Regions from separate parts of the Homo sapiens genome. Here region 1 is linked to region 2. Evidence: promoter capture Hi-C in 16 types of primary human blood cells and fetal thymus (Javierre and others, 2016). All regions are on one chromosome and are shown on one strand. Each heading gives the region's core, a stretch centred on a gene start or on the middle of the fragment in contact. The rest is flanking DNA. Distances are from core to core; before and after follow the strand shown.

Evidence for each region. Contacts are between HindIII fragments. The CHiCAGO score rates a contact against its expected background, and 5 or more counts as called.
Region 1: a contact is called between the fragment with the promoter of ASH2L here and a fragment that was not itself captured in region 2, in 3 of 17 cell types (erythroblasts, megakaryocytes and naive CD4 T cells). The highest score is 8.7, in erythroblasts.

What each region holds. Positions count from the first base shown.
Region 1 is chr8:38,103,354-38,107,890 of GRCh38, reverse strand. ASH2L (ASH2 like, histone lysine methyltransferase complex subunit) reads right to left here and starts at 2,362. Exons shown (of 16, transcript NM_004674.5): 1 at 2,153-2,362; 2 at 1,447-1,513; 3 at 725-870. The coding sequence starts at 2,340. RefSeq lists silencers at 1,975-2,174, 2,505-2,594 and an enhancer at 2,265-2,394. The HindIII fragment of the contact is 22,171 bases long and covers 1-4,537 here.
Region 2 is chr8:38,167,313-38,171,705 of GRCh38, reverse strand. It overlaps LSM1 (LSM1 homolog, mRNA degradation associated), which reads left to right. Exons shown (of 4, transcript NM_014462.3): 3 at 1,789-1,904. Among named protein-coding and RNA genes, the nearest start is that of LSM1, 7.0 kb to the left of the region's middle. The HindIII fragment of the contact is 448 bases long and covers 1,680-2,127 here.

The sequences.
Region 1 (4,537 bases), core at 1,113-3,612, 64 kb after region 2:
CACACACACACACACACACACATATATGTATTTCTTCACAATCTCACCCAAGGTGGATTAATTTCACGATAATGCAGCCTTATGTTTAGATAGTCTTTTATAAATGTATTAGCATAATACAAACCATAAAGAACATTACAGAGAGCGAGCAGTACAATTATTCCAACAGACAGTCAGTATAAGGAAAAAAGTCTTTCATTCTCAATCACAATATGATTTTAATTCACTAGAAGAGGTACATGATTGGAAATAGGTTTGCTGAGGAGAGTAGACAATATACCTAAAGGAGTGAGTCAGCAGCAATGAGAAAGGAAAAAAAGGATGGTTCAGGCATAAAGAGCATGGGTCATCTCAAATTTTGGACAACAGGCTTTATCCACATATATCCTTTCTGAAAAATCCAAAACACCAACACAAGGTTTATATTGTTCTAAATTTGTTTATATAACACTTTGTAATTGCATTTTTTTTTGTCTCCAAACCAGGTTGTCAACTCAAAAGGAGGGGCAATACCCACCATTGTATCTACCAGAGCTGTGCCCTCAGTAAGCAGATAACATGCTAAGGGAATTAAAACAACTCCTGATTCAACATCCTACTTGCTGAATAGGGGTTAGGAGACATAGGAAATACTTTGCATTTATTTTGCCCACAAAGTAACTGTTGAGCATGTTCAGATTTATTTTACCGAGCAATTCTCACAAAAACTATGAAAAGTACTCACGAGGTATCTATGCCAAATGTGTCAGCCGTGAACCATTTTGTACAAATCCCACATTGCAGCTCTACCTCACCCAACTGTCGGCCATTCTCTTCATCCACGGAGCCCGCCTGAGTATCCATCACCTCTGATGTATCCCCAGCACCTTCCTGTGTCAGAGCAGTTCGAGACTCAAATCAGTTGACTTGAATGTATTTTACTTTATTTTATTTTTTTAAGAGACGGGGGTCTCCCTATGTTGCCCAGGCTGGTCTCAAGTGATCCTGAGGTCTCAGCCTCCCAAAGTGCTGGGATTACAGGCATGAGCCACCGTGCCTGGCCTGAATGTATTTTTGATTCGCTTAAAAATGTAAAAACAAGGCCGGGCGCGGTGGCTCACGCCTGTAATCCCAACACTCTGGGAGGCTGAGGCGGGAGAATCAACTGAGGTTAGGAGTTCGAGACCAGCCTGGCCAACATGGTGAAACCCCGTCTCTACTAAAAAGACAAAAAAAAGAAGCCAGGTGTGTTGGCAGATGCCTGTAATCCCAGATACTCGGGAGGCTGAGGCAGGAGAATCGCTGGAACCCGGGGGGAGGAGGTTGCAGTGAGCCGAGATCGCGCCACTGCATTCCAGCCTGGGCGACAGAGCAAGGCTCCGTCGCAACAAAAAAAAAAAAAAAAGAAGAAGAAGAAATAACTAAAACAAACCCTATTTTGTCTTGCAAACAACTAAAAATACTTACTAGTGTATCTTTTCCATTAGATGATTCTGTCTCCAAGCCACCGCTTACATCGACCAAGTTTGCCTCCCTATAAGATAATGAAAGCGCTCAAGTAAGAATTCTCAAGACAAACCTCAAAATGCCTATTCCCAAAAATGATGATCAAATTACAGCCGAACTTCATACTCCTGCAGCTTTTTCAGCTAAGCCTGATCTCAGACTGGATGCCCAAGGTACTGTCAGGATACTGAGAAGGTGGACATGTCAGACAGTCGCGGACCCACGGAGCACAGGGAAGCCTAACCGGCCTTTACAGTCAAATCTACCTGGGTTAGAGTTGGTCCTGGGAGAGGTTCAAAGAGAGGCAGCTCTCCCACCCTGTTTTCAGAGTGACCGTTACTTCTTCCAGTCTGGCACTGCAAAGTGGTTTCTTTTCTGGAATATGTGAAGGCCTCCCGTTAAAGTGTGAGCTACCAGCTTCCTGCCAGGGTGCAAGGATCAGAGATAACGACAGGAGCCTCAGCTCCCACCGCCCGTGAAAGGTGCGGAAGGGGCGTTATCCGAGATATGCTTGAGAGGGGACGGGCCAAGCGGCGCAGAGGCAGGGCGAGCCATTGGCGGCGGGGCCTGGGTTCGCAGGGGGCGGGCGGCAGGGCTCCAGGAGCCGCGGGATTCGCGAGGGGCGGGCCTCCCTCCCGCGTCTTCCTCGGGCGGCAGGACCTCTTACCCGCCTTCAGCCTCCCCGGAACTGGGCTCAACTGTCGGAGCAGCAGAGATCCCCTCTCCAGGAGGAGCGGCTGCTCCCGCTGCCACCGGCTTCATCTCCCCCTCTTCTGCCCCTGTTGCATTTGCGACCGCTCCTGGGCCAGGCCCGGCACCCGCTTCCTGGCCAGGTCCTGCTCCTGCCGCCGCCATCACGGCCACCCCTGGACTTCTCGCGAGAATACTCTCTTCTCTCGCGCGCGTTGCTGTGTGACGCTGTAGTCTTCAAACAGAAAAAGCCCGCGGTGCGTCCACCGCCTGCCTGAGGAAGCATAATTCCACGACCGCTTTAAGGCCAGGCGCGCGGGCAGAGGTGGGCCGGCCTCCCGCGCCGGCGGTGGCCGCGGGCCTGGCAGGCTGAAGGTGGAGGAAGCTAGATGGTTAGTGCGGCTCTCTGGAGGACTTCCTTTCGAGTCAGGGACTGACGCGGCGTATTTTCGTGGCTACGACTGGATATTCTGCGCAGAAGAGGGTCCTTGAGAGCGCTGGCCGTGCCGTGCCGCCAAACACTCCTCACCACCGAATGTGGGAAACGTCTTCCTTGGAGTCTAGCACTCCCTGCCCGCCCCGGATGGAATTTGGTTTTCTGCGCAGGGTCGCCCCTTGGAGCCCGTTTCCAAATGATTTTAAGAGGGAAGGGAATCTAGGGAGGCCGATTCCAGGGGCGAGGGTGGAAAACCCAGGCCGGGCAGCCGAGGAGCGGCGTGGGCACTAGAAGCGGCTCGCCGCTTCCTACTGTGAGAGGCGGAAAGCGAAGCCCCGGGGTGTGCCGGGGCACTCGGAATGTAGACAAGTTTGGTGCCCAGCGAAAGGAAGAGGTGTGGACTGAAAGTACGAACTTGGGAAGTCATCAACAGTAGCTGGTGGCTGGCATCAGTGGAGTGAGTTGAGTCTTTCAGAGCCATGGTCTCCAAACTCGAGAATGCAAACCTCTGAGAGTGTTGCGGCCAGGAACGTTTTCAGGACACCAGTGTTTATCCTATATCCTAAAATGTTGCCTAACGATAATACACTCTTCTCCCGCTTTACACAAGAACGGCGCACCCCTCGCCAATCCTCAGTCTAATCTTACTGTGATGTGTCCACCGATAGTGTAGGAATCTCTGGGCCACTGGACGCCATGGGAAATACGTAGATATTGATTTCCCAATTGGTTCTCAATTATTGGTTTTCAACAAAATTGAAGAAAGACCTAACTGAGTTGCCAGGTTACATTTTTAAAATTGATGATAAATACTTAAATCAGGGGTTGGTACTCCAAAGAGAAGCAGGATGCTTGATCTAAGTATCTCCTCCCAAATACGTAGTATTGTAGCAGTTTTAACATATGGTCGCAGAATTTTGTGTTTTCTTGTTGTTGTTTGTTTGAGACAGAGTCTCGCTCTGTCGCCCAGGCTGGAGCGCAGTGGCCCGATCACGGCTCACTGCAACCTCCACCCCAGGTTCAAGCGATTCTCCTACCTCAGCCTCCCGAGTAGCTGAGATTACAGGTATCTGTCACCACGCCCGGCTAATTTTTGTTAGTAGAGGCGGGGTTTCACCATGTTGGCCAGGCTGGTGTCGATCTCCTGACCTCAAGTGATCCACCCACCTGGGCCTCCCAAAGTGCTGGGATTACAGGTGTGAGCCACCGCGCACGGCTTTTTTTTTTTTTTTTTGAAACGGAGTCTCGGTTTGTCGCCCAGGCTGAGTGCAGTAGCGCGATCTCAGCTCACTGCAACCTCCACCTCGCGGTTTCGGGTTCAAGCGATTCTCTTGCCTCAGCCTCCCGAGTTGCTGGGATTACAGGCACGCGCCATGACGCCTGGCTAATTTTTGTATCTTTAGTAGAGACGGGGTTTCACCTGTGTGTTTTTTTTTTTTTTTTCTGAGACAGAGTCTCGCACTGTCGCTCAGGCTGGAGTGCAGCAGTGGCGGCATCATACCTCACTGCCGCCTCAAGTTCCCCGGGTAAAGCAATCCTCCTGCCTTAGCCTCCTGAGTAGCAGGGACTATAGGCACGAGCCACCACGCCCAGCTAATATTCTTTTTTTTTTTTTTCTTTTTGAGACGGAGTGTTGCTCTGTCGCCCAGGCTGGAGTGCAGTGGTGCAATCTCCGCTCACTGCAAGCTCCACCTCCCGGGTTCACACCATTCTCCTGCCTCAGCCTCCCGAGTAGCTGGGACTACAGGCGCCCGCCACCGCGCCCAGCTAATTTTTTGTATTTTTAATAGAGACAGGGTTTTTGCCGTTTTTTAGCCAGGATGGTCTCAATCTCCTGACCTTGTGATCCGCTGCCTCGGCCTCCCAAAGTGCTGGGATTACAGGCGTGAGCCACTGCTCCCGGCACGCCCAGCTAATTTTCTTAAT
Region 2 (4,393 bases), core at 654-3,153:
AGTCCACCGAAGAGGCTTGTTTTGTTTTGTTTTGTTTTTTGTTTAGACGCGCTCTCGGTCACCCAGGCTGGAGTGCAGTGGCACAATCTTGGCTCACTGCAACCTCCGCCTCTTGGGTTCAAGTGATTCTTGTGCCTCAGCCTCCCAAGTAGCTGAGATTATAGGCTCCAGCCACCACCCCCAGCTAATTTTTGTATTTTTAGTAGAGACGGGGTTTCGCCATGTTGGCCAGGCTGGTTTCAAACTCCTGACCTTAGGTGATCCACCCACCCAGCTGAGCTGGGCAGTTGTTCTGCTCCTCATGGTTTTAGGACAGTCCCTTGGTGTCTAGAAGGTGAGTCAGCTGGTTTGAAGGAGCTTCACTCACATGTCTGGTGCATCAGTGGGGACAGCTGGAAGGCTGGTCTTAGCTCCCATAGTGCTGAGATTATAGGCGCGAGCCATTGTGCCCGGCCCAAGGCTGCTTATTTCTACATTGGCAGGGTAAAATGACTTCAAAGCAGTTCCGGAAGTGAAGGTAATCCCTCCCTAGCCAATGAAAATTGGGTAGAAGGCATTTCCTTTATTTTAAGGACCCCAACATTAAGCTTAATACTTTACATATAGGGATACATTGGAATAAGAGGCCTCTGTCTTTGTTTCGCATCCTGCATTTTTCTTAAGTTAAAAGATTATGTTTCCTTCTGTTTCAAGGAACTTCATGTTCATGCTAACATTTATTGGATATCTGCGAAATCACTGGATTTGAGCATGAGGAAGAAACGTAATTAAAACACTTAAAAGGATTATGGAAGATATGAACATAGATTTCTCCTTTACTTCAAATAGGACAAGTAGTACTAATTGAAAGAGGAAAAATAATTATTGTTAACAAATTGGAGTCCTGATTCTTAAGTCAGATTCATCAGAGTACTTTGAGGGAAGGGTAGTGGCTATTAAGTTGACTTTTAGATTACAAATATAGTTATCTGTCAAGGTGAAAAAATAGGTTTTTGCTGTATCATAACCCATGGATACCTGCGTTGGGTCAAATGAATCCTAATTACTAAAAGAAAGTTGAATCTTCAGCAGATCATCACATACACACCCACACAAAAAGAAAAGCTGTTTCTTTCCAGAAAACAAAAGTTTTGATCTCTGTGGTTGTTTAGGCCCAAGTTTTCCAAGTTCCTTATTCATTTATATTTTCCTATGGTTTTTTTTGGTATTAGCAATTAACTGATAAAGGAATTTATTTCTCTTATTTCTGCTGTCATTCATGTATTAGCCCAACATAATCCCAGACATCTCCTAACTGGTACGTCTTACTCAATGAAATAGGAGAAGATTATTTGAAATTTTAGCCTTCCCCAGAATTAGAAAGCTTGGGGGCCCGGCACTGTGGCTCACGCCTGTAATCCCAGCACTTTGGAAGGCCGAGGTGGGCGGATCACAAGGCCAGGAGTTCAAGACCAGCCTGGCCAATGTGGTGATCCCTGTCTCTGCTAAAAATACAGAATTAGCCGGGAGTGGTGGCAGGCACCTGTAGTCCCAGCTACTCCGGAATCTGAGGCAGGAGAATTGCTTGAACCAGTAGGCAGAGGTTGCAGTGAGCTGAGATGGCGCCACTGCAGTCCAGCCTGGGTGACAGAGCGAGACTCGGTCTCAAAAAATAAATAAATAAAAATAATTAGAAAGCTTGGAAATCATGTTTACCTAAATCTTTTCAAAATAACTGATTATTGAGTTATGGGCCTTTACCCAGTAGTTTAAACTAAATATCTTTGGTTTTTCCCTATACACTTACAGCAAACTTAGTGCTACATCAGACTGTGGAGCGTATTCATGTGGGCAAAAAATACGGTGATATTCCTCGAGGGATTTTTGTGGTCAGAGGAGAAAATGTGGTCCTACTAGGAGAAATAGTAAGTGAAAACTATTAAGCTGCTGTAGATCTTCATATTCATGCTAGTTAGACTTCTTTTTTTGTCTTTTCAAAAGAGAATAAAAATATTCTCCACATTTATCTGGCTTCTCCTAGGCAACTACCAAATTAATTTAGGGAAGCTACAGAGAATACTTTGTTTCAGTGCCTTAACAAATGTGTTCATTAATATATTTGTTTAATAGCAGAAAATTGACAAAGCTTGATTTATATATGCTGGGGAAGGTGTGTCTTACATACGTTGGAATATTTTGCAGTCATTTAAACAATTGGTTACAAGTGGTTTTTCATGGCATAAAGCTAATGCACAGTATTTCAGGGAAGTACATATTGCCTGTACAGTACAATGTGATATCCATATTAGTAAAGGGGGAAAGGGAAAGAGTAGCTATAGGAAAAGCTTTTCCGTTACCTATCCCGAGAATGGAGTTCAGTCTTACTTGGATCCTTAGCTCACAGCCAGGGAGAGGGTATTTTGGTATCTGTGCCAGAAAGACCAGCTGGCAGGTGAAAGGTTAAATCAGATTTTCTGAGGTATTGTTGCTGTAGGTCTTCGTGTGTGCAGACATACACACACACACCCCTACTAGAAGTACTCAGATTTTTTTTTAAAGTATCTTATTTAAAACCTTTGATTTCATCTTGTTATTTCTGATTATTGGGTTTGCAAGGAAAATAAAAATCTCTTCAAGAGTAGTTGAAATTAAGGGTTGAGCCAGCACTGTCTTCTTTTTTCTTACCAAAAACTTTGGTGTTTGCTTAATTTTTAAAGTTTTTAATACTGTTTTCTAAATACCTAGCCATGTCTTAAATCAGTTTGCAGAAATCTTTAGAGTGGTTTGGTTTGTAGCCATTTTTAACAGCCATTTGAGAAAGCAAGGAGATAATTCTGCTAGGGTTGGGTTGGTTCAGAGACCTCATATTGGAAATAGCTAGAAATGACTAATCCAGACTATCAATACTGCCCAAGTGAAATATATGAAGTATATGAAATATATGAATATATGAAATATATGCTGTGAAATATATGAAATAGCTTTTTCTTACTTATAAAATATTTATAAGTAATACTTATAAAAATTTTTCTTATAAAATATTTTTGTAGTTTGTACTTTTAGTTCAGTGTATCATTTCTTGCATGTTTAAGCAGCAGAAATTGTTTTTTGTTTTTTGGGTTTTTTTTTTTTTTTGGGACAGAGTTTTGCTCCTGTTGCCCAGGCTGGAGTGCAATGGCATGATCTCAGCTCACTGCAACTTCCGCCTCCCAGGTTCAAGTGATTCTCCTGCCTCAGCCTCCCGAGTAGCTGGGATTACAGGTGCCCGCAACCAAGCCCAGCTAATTTTTGTATTTTTAGTAGAGACGGGGTTTCACTATGTTGGCCAGGCTGGTCTCGAACTCCTGACCTCAGGCGATCTACCCGCCTCGGCCTCCCAGTGTGCTGGGATTACAGGCATGAGCCACCGCGCCCAGCCAAGCAGCAGAAATTGTTATCTTCTTGTGTCGCATAAAGGCTGAAACAAGGCCAGGTGCGGTGCCTCACGCCTGTAATCCCAGCACTTCGGGAGGCTGAGGCGGGCGGATCACAAGGTCAGGAGATCGAGACCATCCTGGCTAACACAGTGAAACCCCATCCCTATTAAAATACAAAAAAGTTAGCCGGGTGTGGTGGCGGGCGCCTGTAGTCCCAGCTACTTGGGAGGCTGAGGTAGGAGAATGGCATGAACCCAGGAGGCGGAGCTTGCAGTGAGTCGAGATCGTGCCAGTGCACTCCAGCCTGGGCGACAGAGCAAGATTCCGTCTCAAAAAAAAAAAAAAGTCTGAAAGCACCTAGTACCATGGTACCCATGGGGAGACACTACATGACTGTAAAGTAGTCTGCCAGTATTTTTTTTCTTCCAGAGATGGGGTCTCACTATGTTGCCCAGGCTAGATTCAAACTCCTAGGCTTAGGCAATCCTCCTGTCTCAGCCTCCCAAGTAGCCGGGACTATAGGTACATGCCACTGTGCTTGATACTGCCAGTATATAGGGGAGCTGACCCATCTCTGCATGGTGGGGTTATAGATGATTTTTAAAAATACTTTTCTGAATTTAATTTTGAAGAGGCAACGTATCAGAGGAAAAAACTTAAGTTAAAATACTGGGGTGGGTGCAGTGGCTCACGTCTGTAATCCCAGTACTTTGGGAGGCCGAGGCAGGCAGATCGCTTAAGCTGCAAGAGACCAGCCTGGGCAACATGGCCAAACCCTGTCTTTACAAAAAAATACAAAAATTAGCCAGGGGTGATGGTGCACATCACCAGTCCCAGCTACTTGGGAGGCTGAGGTGGGAGATTCACCTGAGCTCAGGGAGGTCGAGGCTACAGTGAGCCATGATTGTACCACTGCACTCCAACCTGGGTAACAGAGCAAGACCCTTTCTCAAGAAAATATTCACAGATATGCTTCTGTTTTATAGTAGTAAACATAG